Regions from separate parts of the Homo sapiens genome. Here region 2 is linked to region 1. The links are contacts of gene promoters, found by promoter capture Hi-C in blood cells and fetal thymus (Javierre and others, 2016). All regions are on one chromosome and are shown on one strand. Each heading gives the region's core, a stretch centred on a gene start or on the middle of the fragment in contact. The rest is flanking DNA. Distances are from core to core; before and after follow the strand shown. Region 1 holds the start of PTMS (parathymosin). Region 2 holds the start of GNB3 (G protein subunit beta 3).

Evidence for each region. Contacts are between HindIII fragments. The CHiCAGO score rates a contact against its expected background, and 5 or more counts as called.
Region 2: a contact is called between the fragment with the promoter of GNB3 here and the fragment with the promoter of PTMS in region 1, in 7 of 17 cell types (naive CD4 T cells, activated CD4 T cells, total CD4 T cells and 4 more). The highest score is 10.5, in naive CD4 T cells.

What each region holds. Positions count from the first base shown.
Region 1 is chr12:6,765,113-6,772,652 of GRCh38, forward strand. It overlaps PTMS (parathymosin), which reads left to right and starts at 1,251. Exons shown (of 5, transcript NM_002824.6): 1 at 1,251-1,638; 2 at 4,491-4,562; 3 at 4,809-4,887; 4 at 5,045-5,106; 5 at 5,280-5,840. The coding sequence starts at 1,594. The coding sequence ends at 5,330. LAG3 (lymphocyte activating 3) reads left to right here and starts at 7,408. Exons shown (of 8, transcript NM_002286.6): 1 at 7,408-7,540. RefSeq lists silencers at 1,116-1,445, 1,556-2,055. The HindIII fragment of the contact is 8,838 bases long and covers 803-7,540 here.
Region 2 is chr12:6,837,155-6,844,694 of GRCh38, forward strand. It overlaps GNB3 (G protein subunit beta 3), which reads left to right and starts at 3,771. Exons shown (of 10, transcript NM_002075.4): 1 at 3,771-3,879; 2 at 4,104-4,190; 3 at 4,432-4,470; 4 at 5,816-5,922; 5 at 6,020-6,083; 6 at 6,209-6,371; 7 at 6,478-6,544; 8 at 6,623-6,824. The coding sequence starts at 4,134. P3H3 (prolyl 3-hydroxylase 3) reads left to right here. Exons shown (of 15, transcript NM_014262.5): 11 at 269-419; 12 at 578-695; 13 at 804-879; 14 at 1,846-1,986; 15 at 2,143-2,693. The coding sequence ends at 2,307. The HindIII fragment of the contact is 12,557 bases long and covers 1-7,540 here.

The DNA of each region.
Region 1 (7,540 bases), core at 1-2,500:
AGCCTTCCACTCTGTCCACCTTCCTGACCTTTAATACACAACCCAGCCCCTGTTCCCTTCTGAAATCCCAAGCTTTTCAAAATGACTCAAAGATACCGAGATTGAGGGCGAGGAGCTGAGGATGTGTGGAATAGGGTGGGGCTGGAACTCCAGACCTGGACCTGTATTATATTTGCAAAGGAGGCAAATATAACCCAGAAAGGCTAGGGAAGATGGCAGCAGAGGAATGAGAAAAGCTGAAGGATGGAAAATGTAAAAAATGAGGACAGAAAGAGGAGTTGAGGAAAGCCAGCCAAGAATAGAGGGCCAGGTGCCTGACTCAGATAAGACAAGAGCAGGGTTGTCTGGGAAAGATAGGGAAAGAGACCAGAGGTGGAAGGGCAGAAGAGAGTCAGTGAGGAGTGGAGAAGAGGTGAGAGAAGAATGGGAGCGATTCGAGTTATAATTGGTTGTGAAGGAGGGGTCTAGGTACAGATGACTGAGGACGGATGAAGAGAAATAGAAGGACCAGGCGAATAAAAGTGAGGTGAGACGGGCGAATAAGAGAGGTAGAAGATGGAAGAGAGCTGGAAGACAGCAAAGGAGACCAGGGGGCCTGACTCCCCCCGGCTCACAGCACGGGGCCAGGAAGGGAGGCACCCGGCAAGGGTCACAAGTGTCAATCTGGCGGGACAGAAGGCTGGGCCGCCCTTTCTGCCCTCCCATCCCTCCTCAAGGCCATCCAGAGAATGTGGATGGAGGATGAGAGGGGGAAATCCGGCGTGGTGTGGAAGGAGCGCCCGAACCCTCTTCCTCTTCTTTAAGCTTTTGGTTTCTCAAATACCTGCCCTATCTTCCCATCTGCTCCCCTCACCCCACCCCTTGGCAAAATCCCAGGGCTTTTTTTGGGGTCAGTAGGATTCTGGCCACCTCTCCAGTCCGCCCCCAAAAGCCAGACTCCACATTCGCAGGCAGTAGGTTGGGATTTGGAAAGGTGCCTCCCCGCAGGAACCCCACCCCTTCCCACCTCCTCGCCCCACTCTTTCTCCGCGGCCGTCAGTCTCTCCATTTCCCCCTCCTGGTCTCGTCCTCCCTCCCGACTCCCTAGCTCTCCCTCCCCTCGCTTTCATCCTCCTATCCCCACCTCTCCAACCTCCTCTTTCATCCCCCTCCCCTCTCCTCTCCTCCCCGCTCCCGCCTGCCCCACCCCTGGGAAGCCCCTCCCGTCGGGCAGCGCCGCCTTATAAGCGGGTTCCCTTCCCGGGGGCGGCAGCGGCTGGTCGGCGGCAGCTCTGCTGGTGCGGGGGCGGCGAGCCCGGGATCGAGCTACCGCGGCCGAGCGCGCCGGCCACCGCCTGCACCGCCCTTCCGCCCGCCCTCCGGACGGCCGCAGCCCTGCGGGTCTCCGCTCCAGACCCACCCCCGCCCCACCCCGCGCGCCTCTGCCGCCTCTTCCAGAGACCCAGCTTGCCGAGCGGCCGCCGCTGCCGCTGTCGCCGCCGCCGCCGCCACCGCGCCAGGTTCCGGCCGCGGCCACCCTCCGCCGTCCAGGGCCCCTCCGTCTCGGCCCCGGGACCCCGGCTCCCCGCCAGCCCCGGCCCCGGCCCCGGCACCATGTCGGAGAAAAGCGTGGAGGCAGCGGCCGAGTTGAGCGCCAAGGTACGGGCGGGGGCGGCGGCGGCCCGGACCTCGCGCAGCCCTGGGGCCCGGCGCGGTCCTTCGCCCCAGGCCGCCCCCGACGGCCCCGCGCGGCCCTTGCGCCCGGGTCCTGGCGGACCCCACTGCGCCCTCCCACCGCTCCCCGGCCCGGAGCTCCTTTCCCGGCTCCGCGCGGCTAGCGCCAGCGCCCTCTAGCTGCCCTGCGCGCACCACGGCGCCCGGCCTCGCCGCTCCGGTCGCGCCGTCCCCCGCAGCCGTCCCCACCCCTCTTCGGCCCCACCTCGCTGACCGGATCCCGTCCGGCTTCCCGTCCGAACGCCCCGAGTCTCACTTTGCCGCGCCCCCTCCCTGCGCCCCGCTGCCGCGTCTTTGCTTGCAACCTGACCTCACCTTTCCTCGCTAAGCGGTTTGAGATCCTCAAGTGTAAACAGGACTCTCCCTGGAGGCTGCTCCTCCGGGCCCCTCCCCGCGGCCCGACCGTCGCTCGCTTCTCTCCCCGGACGGCGGCCGCCTCTGTTTTCTCGTTCCCTCCCCTCAGCTGGCTTTCAGCTTTCTTTTCTCTTCATCGTCCCCTTCCCGCATACACACTGAAAGAATCTCGAATTCCTAAAAATTAGAAGCGGGGCAGGACTAGCCTTCGAAAAAGCCGAGGCTGGGCATTGCATGGCATTGCGTCGAGCTGTCCTCGCCCTCATCAGCTCCCTTCCCCGGCCCCATCCGTTCGCCCTTGCCTCTCTTCCAGCCTTCCTCTAATTTCCCCAGGGAACCTGCGGAGTGTCGCTTTGGGAAATTAACGCGGCCGGGGTTTGGGGGCTGGGAGCCCTATCTTGTGTGTGTATGTGTATGGCGGGGGGGGGGGGCGCGGTGGTTGCTGAGGGGCCGTCACACAGGTCTCCCGGAGGCCCGCGGAGTGAAACGGGGGGAGCCAATGGGATTAACGGCGGTGGGAGAGGGGCTGTGTGCGATCTGCCAAGGTGCGCCCGTGTGGCCCTCCGGCGGGCTGTGCGGTGGCATGTGACTTCACTGAGTAGGTGTCTTTGTATGTCTGAAATCCAGCGAGTGTGTGGGACTGCCCGTGTCAGTTACATGTGTGCATGTGGAGACGTAGATGTTCTGGAGCCATGTTGTCGCTTTGTGAGTGCTGAGTGGCTCCGCTGTGCTCCCGTGCTGTCTCAAGAGTGTGGACCAGAATGGCCCAACGCTGGGCCATGTGTCTCCCATCGCGTGGGTGCTCCTCTCTAACTGTGTCTGTGCATGGCTGTCGGCCGGTGTCGGTGTGTGTGCCTGTGTTGAGTAAATGAGGCCAGAGGGCTGCTTAGCAGAAGACCTAGGGCCCAGGTCACATATTCTCCTGGAAAAGGGATCATGGAAGGACAGTGACCAGAAGGACAGAACAGGGGAGGAGAGGGCCCGGCCCCTTGAACTTTGGTCTCTGGTATTCTCCCTCCCTGCATCAGCCCAGATGGGAAAGTCAGGCCAGGGCCATACAGACTTTTGGTGCTGGGGCCCCCAGAGAGAAGCTGACCAGCTCTTTGCTCTCCTGGCCCAGGACGTAGGGAAGAGCCCCCTAGGTAGTGGAAATGCCATACTGACCTTGTGGCACAGAAATGAAGACCTCACGGTGGGGTGGAAGGGCACCCTCTCTGGAGTGAGAGTGAAGAGTTCTGAGCTACCCTTAAAGGGAGAAGGGAATTGAGTGCCCCCCAGGGCAGCCGTTCTGCACCAGGCTCCTCTCCTATCCCCTATCCTGTTCCAGAAAGGACCCCCCCGCCCAGGGTGATCTCACACAGGAGACTTCCATTCACATGGAATCAGATACACAGCGTGGCACACCAACACCAGATCAGATCACACAAGGACACCTACCGTGTTACACTGTGCCTGCCAAGGAGTGGGTGGGGAGAGCACTGGAATCTGAATTGGGAGGCTAGTGTAGTGTCCAGAAGGGACTCAGATGTGCCATATCAGCACAGGACGTCAACCTATGCCTGCTAGGATCTTGGGGTGAAGGAGAGGGGCTGGCTGGTGGGAGGGTCTCCTAGACTGGTCCCTCCCTCTTCTCCATTCCTATCCCACCCCAGTCACAGACCTTGTTTGTTGCTCTCTCCTTGTTTCCCACGCCTGCTACTCTTCCCCTCCTTGTTTTCTCTTCTACTTCACCTACATTTCCACCGTAAATGGCTACTTCCACTACACCCATGCATACACCATGGGAGGCAGGGATAGAGGAAACTACTTGAACTGTTTTGGGGCGGGGAGGGCAGAAAGTGGGAGGGGTGCTGGGAATGTGCTAAGGTGTAGTGTTTGGCCAAGTAGGGGCCTGAGGATTAGGGAGACACAGATGGAGAGAAACAAAGACCTTAGAAGCTGAAGGGGAAGCTGGGAGGGATGCCCAGGAGAGAGAGTCCTCAGGAAAAGGCCCCAGAGGTAGACAAAAGGCAGAGCTGGGCGGGCAGTGGCGGGGCAGGCAAGGGAGGCGGAGGGACACAGGAGGGGGCGGGGCACTGAGGCTGCAAGCAGATGGAGAGGATTTGCTTTGCTGAGCTGAACTCTTCAGCCAGTGAGGTTTGGGAGAACTTGATGGGGGTGGGGATCATTACCCTGGTTGCCCGCTCCTGCTTCTTCATCCCTTTCCCACCTCACCTTGGGTCTTGGGGAAGGAGGTGTTTGGTCTCAACCCCTTCATGGCCCTAATGTAAGGACCCTAGGGCCCCTATTCTGTCTCTAAGCTGTGGCCACCTTATTCAGTTCACACACCTCTAAGCTCACTACAGAGGGAGAACTGGGGCTGCAGGGACTTAGGGGCTGCAAGCCATTTGTGGTGAGAAAGGTGACCTCTTTCTCCTTTGCAGGACCTGAAGGAGAAGAAGGAGAAGGTGGAGGAGAAGGCAAGCCGGAAAGAGCGAAAGAAAGAAGTGGTGGAGGTGTGGAGGGGTGGGGGAGAGGACCACATCTGCCCTACCATCTTCCCTCCCAATCATCTCATCCTTCCTCTGCTTTCCTTCCGAGGGTGCTGGGTCCTGCCGTTCCCCTGAGCCCTGTCACCCTTGCTGCCCCACCCTGTGGCCCATCCCAAGCCCTTTTATCACCCAGGCTCCAGTCCCATTGGTGGTGATGGTGGGCAAGGCATGCAGCCAGCCTGAGGCTACTCCCTCTCCTGGTCCCCACAGGAGGAGGAGAACGGGGCTGAGGAGGAAGAAGAAGAAACTGCCGAGGATGGAGAGGAGGAAGATGAAGGGGAAGAAGAAGGTGGGGAGGGGCAGGGGAGGCTGGGCTGGCAAAGTCTGGGCTCAAAGGAGAGCAGAGTCAGGGTGGGTTTGAAGACCTGAAGCAGGGCTGAGGGCGACCACGGGGGCTCTGCCAGAGCTTCCTGCCCTTCCCCAATGACCCATTTCTGGCTCCTCAGATGAGGAAGAAGAAGAAGAGGATGATGAAGGGCCCGCGCTGAAGAGAGCTGCCGAAGAGGAGGTTTGGGCTGGGTTGCTGGGCCTGAGGGGCTGTCAGGGATGCAGCCGGGCTGGGCGCCCTTTGGATTTGGACCCAGATCCCTGTGTGGCAGGGGTGGGGGCTGGAACAGGACCGGGACAGGGGGAGGTCTCCCCTCCCATTTTACAGCTCCCCCATTCTCTCCCTCTCCACAGGATGAAGCGGATCCCAAACGGCAGAAGACAGAAAATGGGGCATCGGCGTGAGCCCCTGCCAACAGGCTGGGGTTGGGAGGCCTCTCTGGGCCTGGAGGTGGGGGTGGGGGCAGCCAAGTCCAGCCACTCTTCACCTGGCTCCCTGCTCTGGGCCCTGCACCAGAGCTGCCACCCTCTTCTTTCTCCCCAGCCTTCTCATTTCCGCCTCTCCAGACACTGCGCCCTCCACCCTCACTCTGCCATTGTTCCACCTCCTGACCTGCTCCATCTGAGCTCTCCAGCTGGCCCCCAATTGCTCCTCTCTCTCTTTGCTCTCTTTCTCCCTCCCCTACCAGCCTCATTCTTCCTCCGGTAGCCTCTCCCACCTAACCTCTGCATCCCCCAGCCTCATGTCCTGCCCCATCCCTATCCTGCCTGATCCCTGGATCTCCCTCAGATCCCCTCTTCTCAGACAGCGCCAGGCCGGGGTGGGGCCGGGGTTGGGGCCGAGCCCCACAGCTGCCCCCCTCCCCTCCCTTTTTGTATAATTTAATAAAGAAATGGTCGCGCTTCTGTTTTTAACCTGTCTCCTGCTTTCCCGGGGGCTCCAGTCAGTGCGACAAAAGGGTAGAGAGGGAGGAGGGTGGCTGACCTCCCATTCTGCCAGGACCCTTCCCTTTGATACAAAAGCAGCAGCACACTCCTACCACCCACGACTCAAGAAGACAAGATCAGCCCTCCAGGGGTGGCCTGGAGCCCAGCTCTTCTGAGAGCTGACTTATGTCCTGTTTTGGATTCTCAGGGATGCTCCTCCCCAGCAATACACACTTCCCTGCTAACCCACACAAGACCTAGACACTGCTGAGCCCAGTGGAAAGCTACCAGCTCTATTGTGCTGAACCAGGCACAGAGAAACAGCCCAGAAACAGGAAGTCCTTCCCCTGAGCTGGGAGAGGGCTGGTAGTCCTGGGTCTCAGCCTGCTAGGATCTGGAGTGAGCTGCCTGGCATCAGAGATGCCCTCTGCCTGGCATGGAAGCGAGCTCCTTCCAGTCAAGCAGGGAAATCCTGGGTCTCGTGTCATCCCCAGGTCGGCTGTATGTTTCGTCACCTGCCCTCCAACTCTCCCTGGGCTGGGCTGGGGAGCGGGAGTTGTATGACTCTTGTCAGTCTTGGGCCTTCCCTAGTCCCACTGCCTCTGTTTCCCCTGAGTTTGATCTCTGTTAGGAGATTTCTAAGATTTCTGCATTTCTCCATCTCCGCATGGCCCTTGCCTTCTCCTCTTAGTTCGGAACCTCTGGACTGGAGGATGCTTCTGAGGGCATGGGGACCTGAGTTGGAGTGGGGAGGGGTGTTGACTCATCAACAGCATCATTTCTCCCAGGAGACGCCCGTAACTCATCCAAGGTCAGGACTACACACTGTCACGCACACAGGTACACTCACAGCTTTTATCTTCACGCTCCCTAACCTTGGCAAATTGTACAATTTCTTTGAAGCTCAGTTTCCTCATCTGTACAATGGGGAAAAGCATTAGATTTCATGAATTACTATAAGTAAAGTGTCCAATACAGTGCTTAGCACGTAATGAAGCCTCAATACAATGTAGTTATTCTCCATGCCCCACAAAGCTGGCATGCCTAGCCTCAGACCTACCATTTTTTGGGGTGCAGTAAGGCTTCCTGTCCACCATGTTCCCAGGGACATTGTACTGATGGGTGGAAAGGCAGGTCTAAAGGGGTCACGAAGTTCTGGGAGGTTAAGGGAACGAGGAAGGAGATTGAGCAACAAGGAAAGAGCTTGCCAAGAAGGAGGTGTGAATATTGGGACTGAGGAGGCAGCTTAGAGATGGGCAAGGGGGCAGTTCCAGGCAGAAATGGTTCGTGGAGGCAGAAGGTCCCTGGGAGAGGGAGCAGTCTGGAGGGTGGGGCAGGGGCGAGGAGGGGGAGGTGGGGAGACCCAGGACTGAGGAAGTAAACAAGGGGAGCGCCACCACAGAGGTGGAGAGGTGGAGGGTGCTGCTGCTGGGAATCAACCCCCTCAGACTTTCCACTGCGAAGCGAAACCGTAAGCCCTGGGGTGCGGGGGGCGGGCCGGGAGGAGGGGAAGTGGGGAAGGTGGAGGGAAGGCCGGGCACAGGGGTGAAGGCCCAGAGACCAGCAGAACGGCATCCCAGCCACGACGGCCACTTTGCTCTGTCTGCTCTCCGCCACGGCCCTGCTCTGTTCCCTGGGACACCCCCGCCCCCACCTCCTCAGGCTGCCTGATCTGCCCAGCTTTCCAG
Region 2 (7,540 bases), core at 2,521-5,020, 75 kb after region 1:
GCCCCAGGGCCTGGGCTTTTGTGAAGGAGCTTTCTTGGGACCGAGACTACCTGATAGGACCCAGCGTGGAGAAAAGGGATGTTCTGAGAGCTGGGGCCGGGGTTGTTGTCATGGAGAGAGAAGGAGCAGTTTGGGCTGATGGACAGAGCTGGATGCTGACAGACTCCAAACCCATGGGTGGAGAGCGGCAGAGTTGGGCAGGGGCTAGGGCCGAGACCACCCTCCCCTTGCCTTCCTCCTTTTCTGCCCTGCCTTTCACTGCCTGCAGCTGGCCCGGGCTGGGACAGTGGGCAGTCAGGGTGCTAAGCTGCTTCTGGAGGTGAGCGAGCGGGTGCGGACCTTGACCCAGGCCTACTTCTCCCCGGAACGGCCCCTGCATCTGTCCTTCACCCACCTGGTGTGCCGCAGCGCCATAGAAGGTACGACAGGGACCCCCCACTGCTCTTCTCCAACCTCAGGCCCTGCCCCCAGGACACTGCCCCCAAGAGCCCCGGGGTGGACGTGCACGGCCTGAGCCCACAGGGTGGCAGATGGGCACAGGGGCACAGAGGTACCCCCAGACCCCTTTGTGTCCTAGGAGAGCAAGAGCAGCGCATGGACCTGAGTCACCCAGTGCACGCAGACAACTGCGTCCTGGACCCTGACACGGGAGAGTGCTGGCGGGAGCCCCCAGCCTACACCTATCGGGACTACAGGTGGGCAGCCCCTCTAGTGGTCAGGCAGGTGGGCAGACAAAGGTCATCCCACTGCCGGCCTGGGCCTGGGTTGGGGTCTCACTGCCTCTTGCTTTTTTCCCTCCCCAGCGGACTCCTCTACCTCAACGATGACTTCCAGGGTGGGGACCTGTTCTTCACGGAGCCCAACGCCCTCACTGTCACGGTGCGTGGAGTGGGGGGTGTGACGGTGTGACAAAGGGCCCAGCTGTGGGGTCAGGATTCAAAACAGAAGGCTCCAGAGGCAAATGCAGGGAAATGGCCAGGGCTTTTAACCCTTTCACTTCCCCGCCTCCGCAGCCCTCCCGCTGCTTCCTCCGTAGCAAGGTCTCTAAGTGGCCGAATCAACCCTACCATCAGTATTTGTCTCGCCTCCTAAAGAAGGGTGAATGAAGCACAGCTTGCAGGTGCCTCCAGGACTCCATGGCCCTATTCTAGGGATTTGGGGAACTTGAAATAGTCCTTCCTCTTTGCAGCGAGGTGAGCACAGTGGCTGGCGCACAGATACCAGGGCCGCCTTGACTGGGGCTCGGATTCTGAACCTTTCTGAGGTTTAGTTTCCTAGACTGGGGTGATAATAATAGTACGTATTTTAAAGGGTCATTGTAGGAAGTAATTTAGGTAATGTACCTAAAAGAATGAGGCAGCGCCTGGTAATGATAAGCAATTAATGAATGTTAGGTGGGAAATTTCCGGACACCAGGGGCTAGGATTGGGTAGGAGGAGAGGGGCAGTGATTGTTCATCTGGGTGTGGGGTGTGAAAATGGTTCCAATATCTGTATCCCCTTCTGCATAGAGTCTGGTACTGCATGCACAGCCCCAGATTGCTTCAAGCCCTGGATTCAAAGGGCTGAGTGGGAAAAATCAGGGTACCAGGGGTCAGGAACCAACAGGAGACCATCCGTGGAGACCCCTTTTTCCTTTGGTTCCCAACTCCTCTTGCATTTTTGCTCTGCAAGTTGAAGCTGATTTCTCATTTGCCCCAAGCTAGTCCCTGAATTAAGGAGTAGGAAGTGGTAGCGAGAGAGCTGATCCTCTCTGTGCCCCTGTCCCCATCCTGCTCTAGGGAGTGAGGGCCAAGTTCTCTGAGAGAGCCAATCCCTGGAGCTGAACCTGCCCTCATCCCTCCAGGCTCGGGTGCGTCCTCGCTGTGGGCGCCTTGTGGCCTTCAGCTCCGGTGTCGAGAATCCCCATGGGGTGTGGGCCGTGACTCGGGGACGGCGCTGTGCCCTGGCACTGTGGCACACGTGGGCACCTGAGCACAGGGAGCAGGTAAGGAGCGGGGTAGGAAGGGATGTGGTTCTCCTGGTGCGTGAAGGGTGGGCAAGGAGCCCCCGAGAAGGCTCACAGTCGGTGAGGGTCAGGGGCTGAGCTGACCCAGGGAAGGTGGGTGCAGGGAATGGGCCACACTCTCCTCCCCAACCCCAGGAGTGGATAGAAGCCAAAGAACTGCTGCAGGAGTCACAGGAGGAGGAGGAAGAGGAAGAGGAAGAAATGCCCAGCAAAGACCCTTCCCCAGAGCCCCCTAGCCGCAGGCACCAGAGGGTCCAAGACAAGACTGGAAGGGCACCTCGGGTTCGGGAGGAGCTGTGAGTGGCTGAGCCAGCTCCTTGAGGATGTGGCCACTTGACTTGTGGAAGGCCATCTTGATGCCAGGACACACAGGAAGCCCCTGTGTGACATCAGGAGCAGAACAGCAAGCTCTCTGTCCCTGCACCCCCACCATCTTGGGGACCTACAAGGGCCTGGACTCAGAGGACAGTGCACAGGCTAGCCTGGAGCTCACCAGGCCTGGGGAGCTGGGACGGGGCCCCGCTGCCGGACCTGCAGCCCTGGACAGATGGGGAACACTGTGCCTCCCTGAACAGAAATGGCAGGGGAGGAGGCTGATGCTTTAAATGAAGAGGATGGTGGGGTTGGGAGGTATAACCCTGCTCCTCTCTCCCAGTCTGTGCAATAAAGGTCGTGAAGATCTCTCAGCCAGGGGCCAGTCAAGTGTATCACAGATTCTGTGATGGCTGGAGGTGGGGGTGGCTCTGGCTGGCCTGGGAGGAGACAGGTGTCTTTGGGCCTCCCAGAGGCGGGGCGCCTGGAGCCTGTGATTTGTCAGGGAAATCTCAGCCACCTGCTCCCCTCATGCAAATGACCCAAGCCCCTGGCAGCTGCTCCTTAGGCCTCCAAGTGTAAGCCCTGTCTTCCCTCTCTGAGCTTTGCTGAGACTTAGGGCCGCCTGCTTTCTCTCTGACCCCTGCTTTCACAGCCTCGAGAGGGCAAGGAGGGGGCCAGACCCCAGCCTGGGAGCAGCGTGCGGGCCTTCCCTCCACTTGAAATCCGTTGCCCGCCCACAATAGGGGCAGACCTGTCCATCCTTCTCTGTGGGTCCCCTGTACCTTTCTCCCCCAACAGGATCAGACCCAGAGGCAGCTGGTTGGGGTTTGTCGAGAAGAAGGATTATCCAGATCAGTCCTTTCTAATCTCAGCTCCTGCCTGTACCCTCCCATACTCACCAAACCCTCTTCCCCACCACCCTGAGCTGAGGAGCACAGTTTGAGGTACTGACAATGGGGCCATCTATCACCCTTATATCCCACCTCCTGGCCTGGTTGCTAAGTGGCCCTGACTGCCAAGATCATCACCATGGATGGGGGCCGGGACCAGGGGGGCCACTGGAGCTGTAGTTGTCTGCTCCTTTGCACCCCTCCCAAACCCCAACCCTTAATCCTCACAGCTTTGCTCTAATCCTGTGGGGCCTGATGCTCTTATCTCTGCCTGCAGAGACTGACCAGGGAAGCACCCCTTCACCCCCTCCTCTCTCAGGGCTTGTGGTGGGGGCTGCCCCTCTCTATGGCCCCACACTCCTGCCCCCAACCCTCCTCCCGGCTGGGCCCAAGTCTCTCTGGAATCCGTACACCTCCCTCCCTCCCCCCACCCCTTCCCCCCACCCCTGCCAGCTGATTTCATTTGCCTGACGTTGTGGTTGGCTCTACCCTTCCCTGTCAGGCCCCCCCAACCCCCCGCCGGTCGGGGCCAGGCCAGGCCAGGCCAGCTCCTCTGGCAGCAGAGCCTGGGCAGGTGACGGGCGGGCGCGGGCGTCGCAGCTGAGGGAGTAAGGAGGCTCCCAGGAACCGGAGCTGGAAACCCGGCCGAGGTCCAGCCAGAGCCCAAGTAAGAGGGAGCTGGCCTGGGCTCTGCTCTCCTGGGCTGGGGCGCAGGCAGGGCTCAGGCAGGCTGGGGCTGGACGCAAAGGACCTCAAACTTGGAGGGCCTAGCTGGGGAGAGGGTGCAGCCACCCAGTCGTTTCCCTGTGTCTTGGAGTCTGGTGTGGGCACGAAGGGCAGAAGCACAGCCTGGTGGGGGGTTCCTCAACACCGACCCCATGTTCCTGGCAGGAGCCAGAGTGACCCCTCGACCTGTCAGCCATGGGGGAGATGGAGCAACTGCGTCAGGAAGCGGAGCAGCTCAAGAAGCAGATTGCAGTAACTCCAGAGCCCTACCCCTGGGGCCCCAGAAAACAGCTGGGGACATGAGGAGCGTGGCCCAGGGGGAGGGGGCTGGGTTTGCTCTTGAGTGACTAGAAGTGACCAGGGACTTTCTAAACTTGGTTCGCATATTTGAGACCCCCAAGCCCCAGAGCCCCAAGACCAACCTGCCCTGAAGGCCCATGCACCTGCCACCCCCACCTCGCCCTTGCTCCCCTGATGTCTGCTTTCCCTGCAGGATGCCAGGAAAGCCTGTGCTGACGTTACTCTGGCAGAGGTAAGACCCCCTGTCCCCCGGAAGGCAGGGCATGGGGGGAGGGGAAGGGAGCTCCCCGACCCGCAATAGCGCGTTGCTCCGAGCATTAGTACAGCACGTCCTTGGAGTGAGGAAACCCATTAATTAATTCATTCGACCAACATTTTAGCGGGACCTGCTCTGAGCCAGGCACCATATTGGATGCGAAAGATGCGGACACGGTTCCTATTCTCATCCGTAGAACAAGAGTGACCACAGCCCCCTCCCAGGGCCTTGAAGATGAAGAAGCGATAGTACTTTGTAAATTATAAAGCCCTTGTAGACTCTAGCTGCTAGTTTTCTATGCTGTATTTTGTCAATTCTAAGATGCACATTTCTTCACATTTTGACATCTCTGAAATCAAGGTGCATTCAGCAATGGATCATTGTTTCAATTAGAATTGACAGCATCTTTTCTTTCTTAGTGATGCATCTTAGATTGGATTAAATATGTTAATAGTGAACACTTTTTATGAGCCAGATACTGGGCTAAGCTGCATAAATACCTGATTTCATTGAATTTTCATGATATCTCTGTAAGGTAGGTGCTATGATAAGCCTCATTTTACACCTTGAGTAAACAGACTCAGGGAGGTGAAGCAACTTGCCCAAGATAACAAAGCAGGCCGGGCGCAGTGGTTCACGCCTGTAATCCCAGCCCTTTGGGAGACTGACGTGAAAGGATCACTTGAGCTCAGGAGTTTGAGACCAGCCTGGGCAACATAGTGAGATCTCTTCTTAATATAAAAAAAATTGCTTTTAACTTTTTAAAAAAAGATAGCAATGCAAGTGATGGCAAATCAAGTCTGTTCACTCTGGACCCCCAGCCTAAGTCTAAAATGTGGTTAGAGCTCAAGGGGCATAGTACCACAGATTTCAGGAGGTACAGTTCAGGGTCATGGTGATGCCCCAGGCACCCAGTTAAAAAGCTAGCCGTGCTGCAGCGGTGGGTGCAAGCAGGCTCCTCTCGGCTTGGGAGAGCCAGCTCTGTGCATCTCTTCCCAAATCTGTTTCCAATGACCTCACATTGGCAGCTGGAAACTGGTCAAAGTGCAAGTATTCGTATCGTGGAAATCACCTTCCCACCTTCCTCACCAACACTGGAGAGGTGCTTGTTAAACACTTACAAGCAACACACCTCTGGCCATGCATGCATCTCTTTCCCACATCAGTCTAAGACACTCCAGGGCAGAGACTTATTTCTCTAAGGCTGGGGGCCTGACCTAGAGCCTGGCACAGAGCGGGAACTTGTATAGATCAGTGGCAGTGACAGACATCTGGGCACGTAACCTGCTCACCCTGATATTCAGTGCCCCTCTCTCTGCAGCTGGTGTCTGGCCTAGAGGTGGTGGGACGAGTCCAGATGCGGACGCGGCGGACGTTAAGGGGACACCTGGCCAAGATTTACGCCATGCACTGGGCCACTGATTCTAAGTGAGGCTTGGGGGGGAACCGAGAATGGGAGGGTGAGAGCGGGAGTGAGGAAGGCGGGAAGGGGAGGCTTGCATGATATGGGATGCCCTCTCCCCAGGCTGCTGGTAAGTGCCTCGCAAGATGGGAAGCTGATCGTGTGGGACAGCTACACCACCAACAAGGTACCAGCCCTGCCTCCCTGAGCCTCCACCACTGCATCCTTCCTAAGGGCGCCATGCCTACCCTCCTGTGCCCAGCTGGGAGCTTGGCTCCGGTCCCATCTCTGCTCAAACCACCCTCCCTGCAGGTGCACGCCATCCCACTGCGCTCCTCCTGGGTCATGACCTGTGCCTATGCCCCATCAGGGAACTTTGTGGCATGTGGGGGGCTGGACAACATGTGTTCCATCTACAACCTCAAATCCCGTGAGGGCAATGTCAAGGTCAGCCGGGAGCTTTCTGCTCACACAGGTGAGGGAGAGACCCTCTCCTCCCCTCCTGAGGGGTTCAGGGAACCCTGGGCTTCCAGTGGGCTGTGGCTCTGCAGCCAGGGCACTGTCCTTCTAACCGCCTCCAGGTTATCTCTCCTGCTGCCGCTTCCTGGATGACAACAATATTGTGACCAGCTCGGGGGACACCACGTGGTGAGGCTGAACATTGCTGGTGCTGGGGCTTGGGAGTGGGCCCGGCCTTTCTCTAACAGTCTCCCTCCATTTTGGCAGTGCCTTGTGGGACATTGAGACTGGGCAGCAGAAGACTGTATTTGTGGGACACACGGGTGACTGCATGAGCCTGGCTGTGTCTCCTGACTTCAATCTCTTCATTTCGGGGGCCTGTGATGCCAGTGCCAAGCTCTGGGATGTGCGAGAGGGGACCTGCCGTCAGACTTTCACTGGCCACGAGTCGGACATCAACGCCATCTGTGTGAGTGCACCCCCCACCCCAGCTTCACTCCAACTCCTTCCCCGACACTCCCCACAACACATACAATACACATCCTCTGCCCCTCCCATAGCTTCCCTAGCCCTTTCTTACTGTATTTTTTTTTTTTTTTTTTTTTTTTTTGAGACAGAGTCTCACTTTGTCGCCCAGGCTGGAGTGCAGTGGTGCAATCTTGGCTCACTGCAACCTCTGCCTCCTGGGTTGGAGCAATTCTCCTGCTTCAGCCTCCTGAGTAGCTGGGATTACAGGTGTGCGCCACCATGCCCGGCTAATTTTTGTATTTTTAGTAGAGATGGGGTTTTGCCATGTTGGCCAGGCTGGTCTTGAACTCTTGACCTGAGGTGATCCTCCCACCTCAGCTTCCCAGAGTGCAGTGCTGGGATTACAGATGTGAGCCACTGTGCCCAGTCTTCCCTAGCCCTTTCTTTCTTTCCTTTTTTTGGAGACAGAGTCTCACACTGTTGCCCAGTCTGGATGCAGTGGTGCTATCATAGCTCACCGCAGTCTCAACCTCCAGGGTTCAACCAATCCTCCCACCACAGCCTCCTGAGTAGCTGGGACTACAGATGCGTGTGACCACGCTTGGCTAATGTTTTGATTTTTGTGTAGAGATGGGTTCCCACTATGTTGCCCAGGCTGAGCTGGAACTTCTGAGCTCAAGCGATCCTCCTGCCTCAGTCTCCCAAAATATTGGGATT